Regions from separate parts of the Homo sapiens genome. Here region 2 is linked to region 1. The links are contacts of gene promoters, found by promoter capture Hi-C in human tissues and cell types (Jung and others, 2019). All regions are on one chromosome and are shown on one strand. The core of a region is centred on a gene start or on the middle of the fragment in contact, and the rest is flanking DNA. Distances in the headings are between cores, read along the strand shown.

What was found. Contacts are between HindIII fragments. The study calls those that stand out against the background at their distance.
Region 2: a contact is called between a fragment that was not itself captured here and the fragment with the promoter of WBP2 in region 1, in 1 of the 25 tissues and cell types used here (dorsolateral prefrontal cortex).

What each region holds. Positions count from the first base shown.
Region 1 is chr17:75,853,200-75,859,214 of GRCh38, reverse strand. It overlaps WBP2 (WW domain binding protein 2), which reads left to right and starts at 3,880. Exons shown (of 8, transcript NM_012478.4): 1 at 3,880-3,976. The coding sequence starts at 3,918. RefSeq lists enhancers at 2,261-3,056, 3,665-3,794 and a silencer at 3,125-3,294. The HindIII fragment of the contact is 6,498 bases long and covers 602-6,015 here.
Region 2 is chr17:76,212,833-76,218,847 of GRCh38, reverse strand. All of the region lies in intron 1 of RNF157 (ring finger protein 157), which reads left to right. Among named protein-coding and RNA genes, the nearest start is that of RNF157, 25 kb to the left of the region's middle. The HindIII fragment of the contact is 4,066 bases long and covers 939-5,004 here.

The DNA of each region.
Region 1 (6,015 bases), core at 2,631-5,130:
TGCACTCCTCCTTAGCGCACCGCTAAGATGTGCTCCAGTGTGGAGAATATGAGCATCATACTGCAGTGAAAAAGAGATCTGGAGACAGGCAGACAGGAGTATGAGGCCAGAGGAGAGGTCTGAGTACTGAGACCTGGGCCCAGGGGAGCCTCCTGCTGCTCACCTGGTTCAGCAATAAACCATTGTTGAAGTCTTCGGTTTGAGTTTTGAGTTCTGGTACGTTCCAGCCCCAAAGTCATGGGAGCCGCCCAGGAAGTGTGTTCACATGGTCATATGTTTTTGTAAAACTTAGAAATTCTGGACATTGTAGCCGGAGCTGGTCAAGCTTGTTATCTCTGCACTGCAACTTCCTCTTCTTGTCATTTCCCCTCCTGTCAGGAGGCCTCACTGTAGCCACAGTATTGTGAATGAATAATTGTGGGGTTGTTTTTTTTTTTTGAGTTAGAGCTTTCCTCTCGTTGCCCAGGCTGGAGTGCAGTGGCTTGATCTCAGCTCACTGCAACCTCCGTCTCCAGGGTTCAAGCGATTCTCCTGCCTCAGCCTCCCGAGTAGCTGGGATTACAGGTGACCGCTACCACACCCAGCTAATTTTTTGTATTTTTAGTAAAGACGGGGTTTCACCACGTTGGCCAGGCTGGTCTCAAATTCCTGACCTCAGGTGATCCACCTTCCTCAGCCTCCCAAAGTGCTGGGATTACAGGCATGAGCCACTGCGCCCGGCCTGTGTATTTTATTTCTTAAAAAGAGCCTCCAGATCACTTGAGTCCAGGAGTTCCAAGGAAGCAGTGAGCTATGATCGCACCTGGGTGACAGAATGAGACCCTGTCTCAAAAAACAAAAACATAAACAACCAAGACAGCCTCCAAAATTGTATAAGCTTCAAGGCCTGGCAAAACCTGAACTTGCTCCTGTCTCCAACGTATTTGGCAAAGGGGTGGGAGAGGGGTGGGCAGGTTGTCCCCATCTTCCCATTTATGGTCCTTAGAGCAGCCAATGCTGCCTGCTCTTTGCTGGGGGGATTTTCCTTTTTTTCTTTTTCTTTTCTTTGAGACAGAATCTTCCTTTGTTGCCCAGGCTGGAGTGCACTGGGACGATCTTGGCTCACTGAAACCTTCGCCTCTCAGGTTCAAACAATTCTCATGTCTCAGCCTCCCTATTAGCTGGGATTACAGGAACCACGCCACCATGCACAACTAATTTTTGTATTTTTGCGTTTTTTTTTTTTTTTTTGGGATGGAGTTTTGCTCTTGTTGCCCAAGCTGGAGTGCAATGGCGTGATCTCGGCTCACTGCAACCTCCACCTCCCAGGTTCAAGGGATTCTCCTGCCGCAGCCTCCCGAGTAGTTGGGATTACAGGCGCGCGGATTACAGGCGCTTACAGGCGCACAACACCACACCCGGCTAGTTTTTGGTATTTTTTAGTAGAAACGGGGTTTCTCCATGTTAGCCAGCTGGTCTTGAACTCCTGACCTCAGGTAATCCGCCGACCTTGGCCTCCCAAAGTGCTGGGATTACAGGTGTGAGCCACCGCGCCCGGCCTAATTTTTGTATTTTTATAGAGATGGGATTTTGCCATGTAGTCCAGGCTGGTCTCAAACTCCTGGCCTCAAGTGATCCACCCACCTTGGCCTCCCAAAGTGCTGGGATTACAGGCACGGCACCAGGCCTGGATTTTGCTTTTCTTTTTCTTTTTTCTGAGATGGAGTCTTGCTCTGTCGCCTAGGCTGGAATGCAGTGGCATGATCTTGGCTCACTGTAACATCTGCCTCCCAGGTTCAAGCGATTCTCCTGCCTCAGCCTCCCGAGTAGCTGGGATTACAGGTGCCCGCCACCATGCCCGGCTAATTTTTGTATTTTTAGTAGAGATGGAGTTTCACCATGTTGGCCAGGCTGGTCTTGAACTCCTGACCTCAGGTGATCCACCTGCCTTGGCCTCCCAAAGTGCTGGAATTTGGCTCACGCCTTTGGCGTGAGCCACAAACCCCGGCCTGCTTTTCTTTTTTAAATTTACATATTATTTATTTATTTTTATTTTATTTTATTTTGAGATGGAGTCTCACTCTGTCACCCAGGCTGGAGTGCAGTGGCGCAATCTCAGATCACTGCAAGCTCTGCCTCCCGGGTTCACGCCATTCTCCTGCCTCAGCCTCCCAAGTAGCTGGGACTACAGCCGCCCGCCACCACGTCCGGCTAATTTTTTTTTTTTTTTTGTATTTTTAATAAGGGGTTTCACTCTGTTAGCCAGGATGGTCTCGATCTCCTGACCTCGTGATCCGCCCGCCTCGGCCTCCCAGAGTGCTGGGATTACAGGCGTGAGCCACGCGCCCGGCCTAAATTTATATTTTAAACGCACATAGGAAAAAAAAATTAAACAGTACCAAAGAGTACAATGCATACTGACATACCGAGTCACCAATCCACCCCAAATTCCTAGACCCATGTCTCAAAAATGCCACAGACATTTTCTGATGGATCTTTGCAAAAATTTTCTATCTAGATCCTATTTTTTATACAAATACAACTATATGTATACAGCATTCTGTGCTTAATAACCCTTGATGATCTTCCCATATCAGCACATAGTCTGACTTAATTCTTTTTAAAGACTGCAGAGATTGCAGGCGCCAAAATACATCTAACCATTGGGGCAGATTTCATTATGACTATCCTTAACCCACTGTACTTGTCCCGCAAGGTCCAACCTGGTATTGCACAGGACCTCACAGAACGCTGCTGTTTCCTGATCTTTTCTAGTGAGGCAGCTTTGTTTCTTCACATAGGAGACCTCCCTGGAAAGCGAAGTCAAGCAGGTGGATCTAGAGGTTGGCCACCACAGTCAGGAAAGCAGCTGTCTACTGAAAAGCAAACTCTAATTCCTTAACATTAACGAGTACCGGAACTACCACGTGGGAAGTGCAGCCCCCTCTCTCCGCCTCACGGATTCAGCTCGGAGGTGCAGGGGTTTGGTGGGGGGCGGTTAGGGAATGACAGCTGCCCCGTGGAGGACGCCCAGGGCTGGGTCACGAGCTGACAGGAGTCAGCCTTATTCTGTAAATCCTAGTTATCAGGATGCCGGTTTCGCGCCGTGCCCAGTCCCACTCAGCCTTCAGTCTTCCGGCCGGGACCCCGCTGGGCGCTAAGGGGGGAGCGGCGCCACCGCGAGGCCGGAGAGGGGGCTGCGAGGGGCGCCCGGCCGGCCTGCGAACGTGGTGGGAGCCAGGCGGGGCACACGGCCTCCCCTTCCCATGAGGGACTCTCCCCGCCCCCCGGGCTCAGCGCTGGGAGTGGTGAGATGGATGGCGGGGTGATCCGACGCCGCCAGCCCACCGCGTCCCCAAGAGCCGGGGCCTCCGGCTCAGCTAAACGCCCCAGAGTCACGCATGCGCCCCATAAACGTCTGCTGAGTGAACGAAAGCTCCCCATCCACAAGGGGACAGCTCGGCGCTCCCACGCCATGTCCAGGTCGCATTCGACCAGCAGGACTTCCCTTAACGCGCTGCCGGAGTCCCCAAGATCGCGCCCCTGCCAGGAGCGGAACTGTTTATTTCCGTCCGGCTGAAGAGGCGGGGTGGGGATGGCACAAGCCGATTGGTTACGCAAAATGTGGAACCAATTCAGGCCTATGATCCAGGAGACTACAAGTTCCAGAATGCATCCTTCCTCCAGCATAGGGACAGGCCGAGGCTGCGGGGGCGTTGCCTGCTGGGAATTGTAGTCTTCATCTTGTTTGTTGCGCAGGAGGAACTGGAAGGAGGGAGTAAACTATTACCACGTGACGTTCGGGTCAGGTGTTTGGGCCAGCCTCCGCACTCGAGCTTTGATTGGCTGACTCTAATAAGAAGACGCCACTAGGGGCGGGGCGAAGAGGGGCGCAAGCTCATTGCGTTTTGAGTCTCGGGACCCCTGTTGGAGAGACTATGGCGCTCAACAAGAATCACTCGGAGGGCGGCGGAGTGATCGTCAATAACACCGAGAGGTGAAAACACTGCGGAAGGATCCTGGAGGACCAAAGTTCGGGTGTCGAGGAAGTGGGCGGTGGGTGGTGGGTGGTGGGGAATAAGCCCCTGAAGAGGGAGCACTGATGGAGTGAGGTTGGTGGGGAACGGCTGGGGGCGGGGTTGGAGGAAGGTGGGTGGGCCGTGGGGGAGAGCCCGGGAGGTTGTGATCAGCTGGGAGGCGGGGGTGGGACGTCTGCATGGGGACCTGGTATGGGGCCCCCGGTGGGGCCTAGGGGTGATTCTTGAACCCCTTCCCAGACTTGTGATTTCAGTAGCTGGGAGGAGCCCCAAACAAAAATAATTGTCACTTATTGGATGTCTACAACGTTACTACGTGTCAGGCTCTGCGCCTTTTCTACCTTATTTAATAAATTCTGTGCAGTATAATCTACTACTGTCCACATTTCACAGGTAGGGAAAGTGGAGGGCAGAAAGGTTAAGTAACTTGCCCGAGATCGCAACTGTGTAAGTAACAGAGGTGGTAATTCCAGGAAAGGAGTCTTGACTCCAAAGTTAATAGGATTAACCACCAGCATACAGGCTTCCAGTATGTTCCAGAACTGTTCAGGTTCCCGGTAAAAAACTGAGGTCCCAGAGGTGAAATTAAACAGATGACGTTTGTCAGGTGTCTAACAGTTCCTGGCACTGTGTGGGTCCGTAGTCATTCCCTTGCCTCTCTCTTGAATGCCTGTTGGTTTGGGTCACCTCGGAAGGCAGAGCTCTCCTAATTCAAGGTTCTTTCCACTCCATCCTCCCCACCCCTTGCTCATTGCATCCTGTCTCTCCTCCAGTCTCTGCCAAGAGAAGCCTTAAATGGCCTCTGTCTCCTTTTGTTCCTTGGGTATTGAAAATCAGACCAGCCAGCCCTGGGTTGAACTATGCCGACCCTGAATTGCCTCTTGAAGGCAGAAGGAGCTTAGGAGGCACCTGAGTCCCCAAAGGAGACATCGTGGAGTCAGAGCCCTGTACCCAGCTAAGGCCAGCATCCAGCTGCCCTGTGACTTGGGAATGTTTGATGAGTCAGAGGAAAATGCCTAGAGTGACCCAGCATGCTCACTTTCCCTCTATCTTACCCGCTCAGAGTTTCATGGGCCCAGCCTGTTGCTGGTAATTCCTTCTTTTCTCTGAGCAGTACTTCTCTTCTCTTTTTTTTTTTTTTTTTTTTTTTTTTTTAGATGGAGGCTTGCTCTGTCGCCCAGGCTGGAGTGCAGTGGCACGATCTCAGCTCACTGCAACCTCCGCCTCCTGGGTTCAAGCGATTATCCTGCCTCAGCCTCCCCAGTAGTTGGCATTACAGGCACCCGCCACTACACCCAGCTAATTTTTTGTATTTTTAGTAGACATAGGGTTTCACCATGTTGGGCAGGCTGGTCTCGAACTCCTGACCTCGTGATCCACCCTCCTCGGCCTCCCAAAGTATTGGGATTACAGGAGTGAGCCACCGCGCCCAGCCATTTTCCTTTGCTTATACCAGTTGTTTCCCACTTACCCTTCCCCAGTCAGAGAAAGTTGTGATATATGGGGGGAGGCAGAAGACAAACAGAACCGTGTGAACCTTTTTATCATGTAATCAGAGACACCTCACACTGTTTTGTTGCATCTCTGTGTGTGAGTCAGTTCCCAGGCCTGGCCAGCTTTTCGTGCCATTTGGCAACATCTCTGGGGACTGTTTTTCTTTCTGTCTCTGTGGAACTTTCTGAGACAAGAATGTATCTATCCTGCTCGGCCTTCTACCTGGCTTAGGGCTCAGTCCTGCTAAGTAAGGTGTGCCTTCAGCCTGCTGTTTTAGAAAGTGCTTCAGCCTGCTGTCTGAAAAAGTTGTATCTATAACAATTGAAGTGTTAAGTCCAGTGTCCAAAATTTGATAATTAGGCTGGGCATGGTGGCTCACGCCTGTAATCCCAGCACTTTGGGAGGCTGAGGTGGGTGGATCACTTGAGGTCAGGAGTTTGAAACCCGCCTGACCAACATGGTAAAACCTCGTCTCTACTAAACACAAAAAATTAGCCAGGCGTGG
Region 2 (6,015 bases), core at 1,722-4,221, 360 kb before region 1:
ATTCTTCTGCCTCAGCCTCCCGAGTAGCTGGGACTACAGACACATGCCATCACTCCCGGCTAATTTTTGTATTTTTAGTAGAGACGAAGTTTCACTATGGTGGACAGGCTGGTCTCAAACTCCTGACCTCAGTTGATCTGCCCACCTTGGCCTCCCAAAGTGCTGGGATTACAGGTGTGAGCCACCATGCCTGGCCTGTTTTTCCTTTATTGAGACAGAGTCTCACTCTGTTGCCCAGGCTGGAGTCCAGGGGTGTGATCATAGCTCACTCCTGCCTTGACCTCCAGCAATCCTCCCACCTTAGCTTCCCGAGTATCTAGGACCACAAGCACATGCCACCATGCCTGGCTAACTTTTTAATTTTTTTATTGTAGAGATGAGGTCTTGCTATGTTGCCCAGGCTGATCTTGAACTTCTGGGCTCAAGCAATCCTCCTGCCTTGGCCTCCCAAAGTACTGGGATTGCAGGCGTGAGCCACTGGGCTTGGCCTGGAAGCTTATTCCTTAGTAGACTCCTCAGATGAGCTCAGGGGCTTTTCTTTCTTTGACTACCTTAGAATGTTACTCCCTTGTCTTCTGACATAAAGTGTTTCTGTTGAAAAGTCTGATGACACCGATTTTCTTCCCCTCTAGAATTTTGACTTTTTGCCTGGGTGCCTTTCTTTCTTTAAAGGTCAGTCATTTTACTGAACTTGTCTTAGTGTTGATCATTCTGGCTCATACCTTTTGGTTTTTTTTCTTGATATTTATGTGTTTATTATTGTGGCAAAAAAACACATAACGTTAAATTTAATCATAGTAACCATTTTTAAGCATTCATTAGTGTTACATATATTCACTCTGTTTTGCAACAGATGTCTAGAACTTTTTTATTTTATAAAACTAAAACTATGTACTTGTTAAACATTAATTTCCCCTTTCTCCTTCCCACTCATACCTTACGGTTTACGTATAATCTTGGAGATATGTGTATGATGTGACTTTTTAAAGCCTGCAAAGAATTCTGAATATGAGTTTTGATTAATAAATTATAGCTCACTAATAATGAAACACTCGAAGTTTATCTACTAGTGACATATGTTTTTTTCCCGTTAGCAAATAGGCAAGGGTGTATTTTAGTTGAGTTCTGCAGTTTATCTGTGAGTGACGTGTTTCTCCTGGTAACAAATAGGCAAAGAAGTACTTTAGTAGAGTTCTTTTCCCCCACCACTGATTTTGAAGCACAGTTCATTGTGTTAAGAAGTAAAAATATGCATAAGCTGTCTAAAAGTCATCTTGTTTGGGGACTGTTGATGTGTTTGGTGTTGGTATCTGATGATCTAGTAGCTATACATAGCTGTGCACCAATTTGTCCCTCTAGAAAGACTGAGCAAGTAGAAAGCTTTATTCAGTCTGAAAAAGGCTGATTTGCTTTTCTCATTTGTCTAAATGAAAGCAAGCTGCTAGAGGGGTTCATTTCAAAGAAAGGAAAAAGCAAATTTTTGGTTGTAAAATGAAATACCAATAAGTAAATTTATTTTTCCTTTTAACAGATGAGGATGGCTGGGCTCGGTGGCTCACACCTGTAATCCCAACACTTTGGGAGGCTGAGGCGGGCAGGTCTCTTGACCCAGGAGTTTGAGACCAGCCTGGCCAACATGGTGAAACTCCATCTCTACAGAAAAACAAAAACAAACAAAAAATAGATGAAGGTTTGGGGAGCTCTTTTTAATTCATACAATCTTGCACATTTTATGCGTCTTCCCCTTAATAACCAAAAGTTTAGAAATTAATATTGCTAAAGAATTATTGAGTGATTGAACAGGTGTTCAAGCTAATTTTAAGTAAAAGTAAGAACAATTTTGCCAACTTTGTAATTTTGAGAAAATCATTCCCAGTTATAAGTATACAGCTTATATAGCTTTTATGGGGTTTTTTGTTTGTTTGTTTGTTTTTTGTTTTTGTTTTTGTTTTTTTTTGACACAGGGTCTTGCTCTTTTACCCAGACTGGAATGTAATGGCGCAGTCATGGCTCACTGCAGGCCTGACCTCCTGGGCTCAAGTGATCCTCCCACCTCAGCCTATTGAGTAGCTGGGACCACAGGCTTGGGCCATCATACCCAGCTAATTTTTTAATTTTTTGTCGAGACAAGGGTCTAATTATAATATATTGTGAACATTTTTAATGTCAGTAGATATAGATTTACAACACCACTTTGAAAGGCTTCATAATACTCTACTGACTGAATATACCATAGTATTATTATTATTATTATTTTTAAATATACAGAGACAGAGCCTCACCATGTTGCCTAGGCTGGTCTTGAGCTCCTGGGCTCAAGTGATCCTCTCACCTTGGCCTCCCAAAGTGCTAGGATTACAGGTGTGAGCCACCACACCCAGACTATTCTTGATTTTAATGCAAGGCAAAACTACAATTAGCTCTACACATCTTTTGTGGTCATTTCTTTTCTTTTAATATTATGGCATAAAAGGGCATTTCTAATCGAACCCTGTTGCCTGCTTTAACTCTTTAGCCCCCAAATCATTAGGGGTCCTCTCTCGCTAGGTTCAATCATGGCCACCTCTAAGCCAATCATCCATGGATTTTTACTGCCCCAGATCCCTCCCCTGAGATCTCACAGGTACTGGAAACTCAGTGGTCCCACACTGAGGTCAACCTAGACAATTCCAGACATCAAACTCTCTTCTCTCCCTTTCTTTTTTCATGATTTGGGCAAGCCATCCATCTGTGTAACATCTTTAACTTTTCCAATTTTACCTAATATATGATAAATGTATAATTCCTGATGCATAGAAAATATATCTTGCTGAAGTTCATCAGTAAATGACTTAAATTATTTGAGATTGCTGCTTCTACTTAAGGCAACTAGGTACCTCCCCTCTCCATAAATTATGCACTTGGAAAATAGGGCTAGCAAGTGCCAGACATAAATAATTGATAATTAAGCTTTCCTAAATGATGAATTCTGCTGTTGTATCACTGTATCAGATGGCTGCCCTTTGTCTTTTTAAGTTTTAATGGGTGACTTTCAGTAGTTCCTCAGTGATTGCTTTGATCTGGGTTGCATTATTACTCTCAAAGAATGTTTTCCTGCTTGTTTAATTCAATAGTTGCCTCACTTTGTGGTGAGTGATTTTATCCACATTGTTTTATTTAATAGATGTTTCTAGACTAAAGCTCCTTGTGTAGAAAGTTTTAAAAATGAATGTTTGGTTCAGTTTTTGCTAGAATTTTCTTCTCTGTCTTCCTTCCTATGGCTTCTCCACAGGCTCAAAGTACTGAATCTCATTTTTTTTTTTTTTTTAGTTTGCTATAAATCTTTTTTTCCTTTTTTCTTTTCTTTTCTTTTTTCTTTCTTTCTTTTTTTTTTCTTAGAGAGGGTCTCACTCTGTCACCCAGGCTGGAGTGCAGTGGCAATCATAGCTCGCTGCAACCTTGAACTCCTGAACTCAAGCGACCCTTCTGCGTCAGCCTTCTGAGTAGCTAGAACTCCAGACGCATGCTACCATGCCCAACTAATTTTTGTATTTTTATTTATTTTTTGTTTTGTTTTTAGTAGAGACAAGGTCTTGCTAAGCTTGCTAAGTTGCCCAAGCTGGTCTCCAACTCCTGGCCTAAAGCAATTCTCCTGCCTCAGCCATCCAGAGTTTTAGGATTACAGGCAAGATCCATCACACCCTGCCTGCTACAAATCTTCAACAAAAATTGCAACTGATTTAGGGAGTTTGTGTATATCCTCAATGTATTATACACAAGCAAGCCTTTTGCCACTTAATAAGTTCCTTGTGTTAATTTCAGAAATGGGGTATATGAGAGTGTTGATAAAGGTATATTATGGGATGTGTCCTTTACTTTGGACAGCTTACCTTCATGGGAGAATTAGATAATAGAAATTAGAGGTAAGCGGCATTCGTTTAATCATCAAACTTAAAATGTATTCCCAGATGTAATTTTCAGCATAACCTAAGCCTCCTTTGGTGACTTCTCAGTTCCATCATATCCTGTCACAGTTCCTTGGTTTGTCCGGATGAGGCTGATGGGAATTTTGGCCCCTGACTGCTGATTTCATTTGGTTATTATATTGCACTGAAAATATTTCTGCCTCCTGGCTGATTAAGAAGGGGCAAAGGGGCCCTGCCATGACTGATGTCCCAGCAGTTCTGGCCATTAGCACTGTTAATGAATTTGAGGTGGAGAGGGTATGTGTGTAGCCTTCTTTCATAGCATTAAATTGTCCCCTTATTTTACACCATAGTCTGTGTAGTAATTGGTAGAGAAAGCCAGGGATAACTGTATTATCTAAATTCGTATTTTCCTGTGAAACAATAATGTTTGCAGCAAGTTAAAGTGTGAAGAACCTTCATCATAGAAGGTTATGGAGGTATAGCAGTAGTGGTGGGTGGGTACTGAGACTTCTGTGTGTAGGTATAAGCTGGCTTATGAAAATCTAGGCAAAGAAATGTGTGCGTCTGCGGATATAGGAAAAAAACTCAGTTTCTCCTATACACTCACAACACAAGCAGCACAGAAAACTTCTGTGACCTCTGGTCAGCAAAATGTGTGGGGATTCTCTCCACCAGCAACCACTCAGTTCTGCAGAGGACACCAGCTGGGTGTCCTCCAATTCATTTCACTTCTGATACTACTTGAAGATAGTGTCCCATCCCACAGGTTGAGGGTGCAATCTCACAAGACTGCCCCCCACTTCTGATGCCCATCGCAAGCCCCAGGTTGTTTTACCTGTGCTTCCAACTAACCAACCAGAAAGCAGGGTTCCCATAACCCCCTCCTTGGGTGTGATTAACTTGCTAGAGGGACTCACAGAACTAGAGAAACACATTTACGAGTTTATTATCAAGGATATTACAAAGGATACAGAGAGAGATACATAGGGCGAGGTTATGTGAGAAGGGGCACAGAGCTTCTATGCCGTCTCTGGGCATGTTACCCTCCAGAAACCTGTAAGTGTTCCCCTGTTTGGAAGCTTTCTGAACCAGTCCTTTGGGTATTTATAGAAGCTTCATTACATAGCATGGTTGATTACATCATTGGACATTGATGATCAACTTAACTTTCATCCCCTCTCCCTTCCTCAGTGGTTGGGGGATGGGCTGAAAGTCCCCACCCTCTAATCCTGCCTTTTCTTTCCAGTGACCAGCCGCCATCCTGAGGCTACCTAGGGGCTGCCAGGCAGTGGTTAATTCATTAGCATATGTAAAGACAAAAAAAAAAGACATCACTTTGGATATTCCAAGCATTTTTTTTTTTTTTTTTTGAGATGGAGTTTTGCTCTGTCACCTAGGCTGGAGTGTAGTGGTGTGATCTTGGCTTACTGCAACCTCTGCCTCCCGGGTTCGAGAGATTCTCCTGCCTCAGCCTCCCAAGTACCTGGGACTTCAGGCGCATGCCACCATGCCTGGCTAATTTTTGTATTTTTAGTAGAGATGGGGTTTCACCGTGTTGGCCAGGCTGGTCTCTAACTCCTGACCTCAAGTGATCCGCCCTCCTCAGCCTCCCAAAGTGCTGGGATTACAGGCATGAGCCACCATGCCGGCCTGGATATTCCAAGGATTTTAAGAGTTGCATTCCAGGAAATAGGGTTGAAGATCAAACATATATTTTACAATATCACAGTGTATGTATATGCCGATACCTGTAGCTGAGATTCTTCAATACATGGAATAACTACTTCAAGTTTAAAGGCAAAAGTCAGGAACCAAAAAATATATATGATCATTAATGTGCATTGTAGAACCTTTTGGTCTTTTGGCTGGAGGTATTTTAAACAGATCATTAGAAGAATTCAGTTAAGAATGTTAAAAGGAAAACAGTGATCTAGTCTACGTTTGGTATCTGGGGTTTTCCCTGCTATGATTTTACTTATTTTGTGCCATTGTCCCAAATCAGGAAAAGAAAACACTCTGGGATTAGAAATTGCTCTAATTATTCATTCAGAGGGTTAACTTTTTTGTTTTTGTTTTTTTGAAACAGAGTCTCACTCTGTCGCCCAGA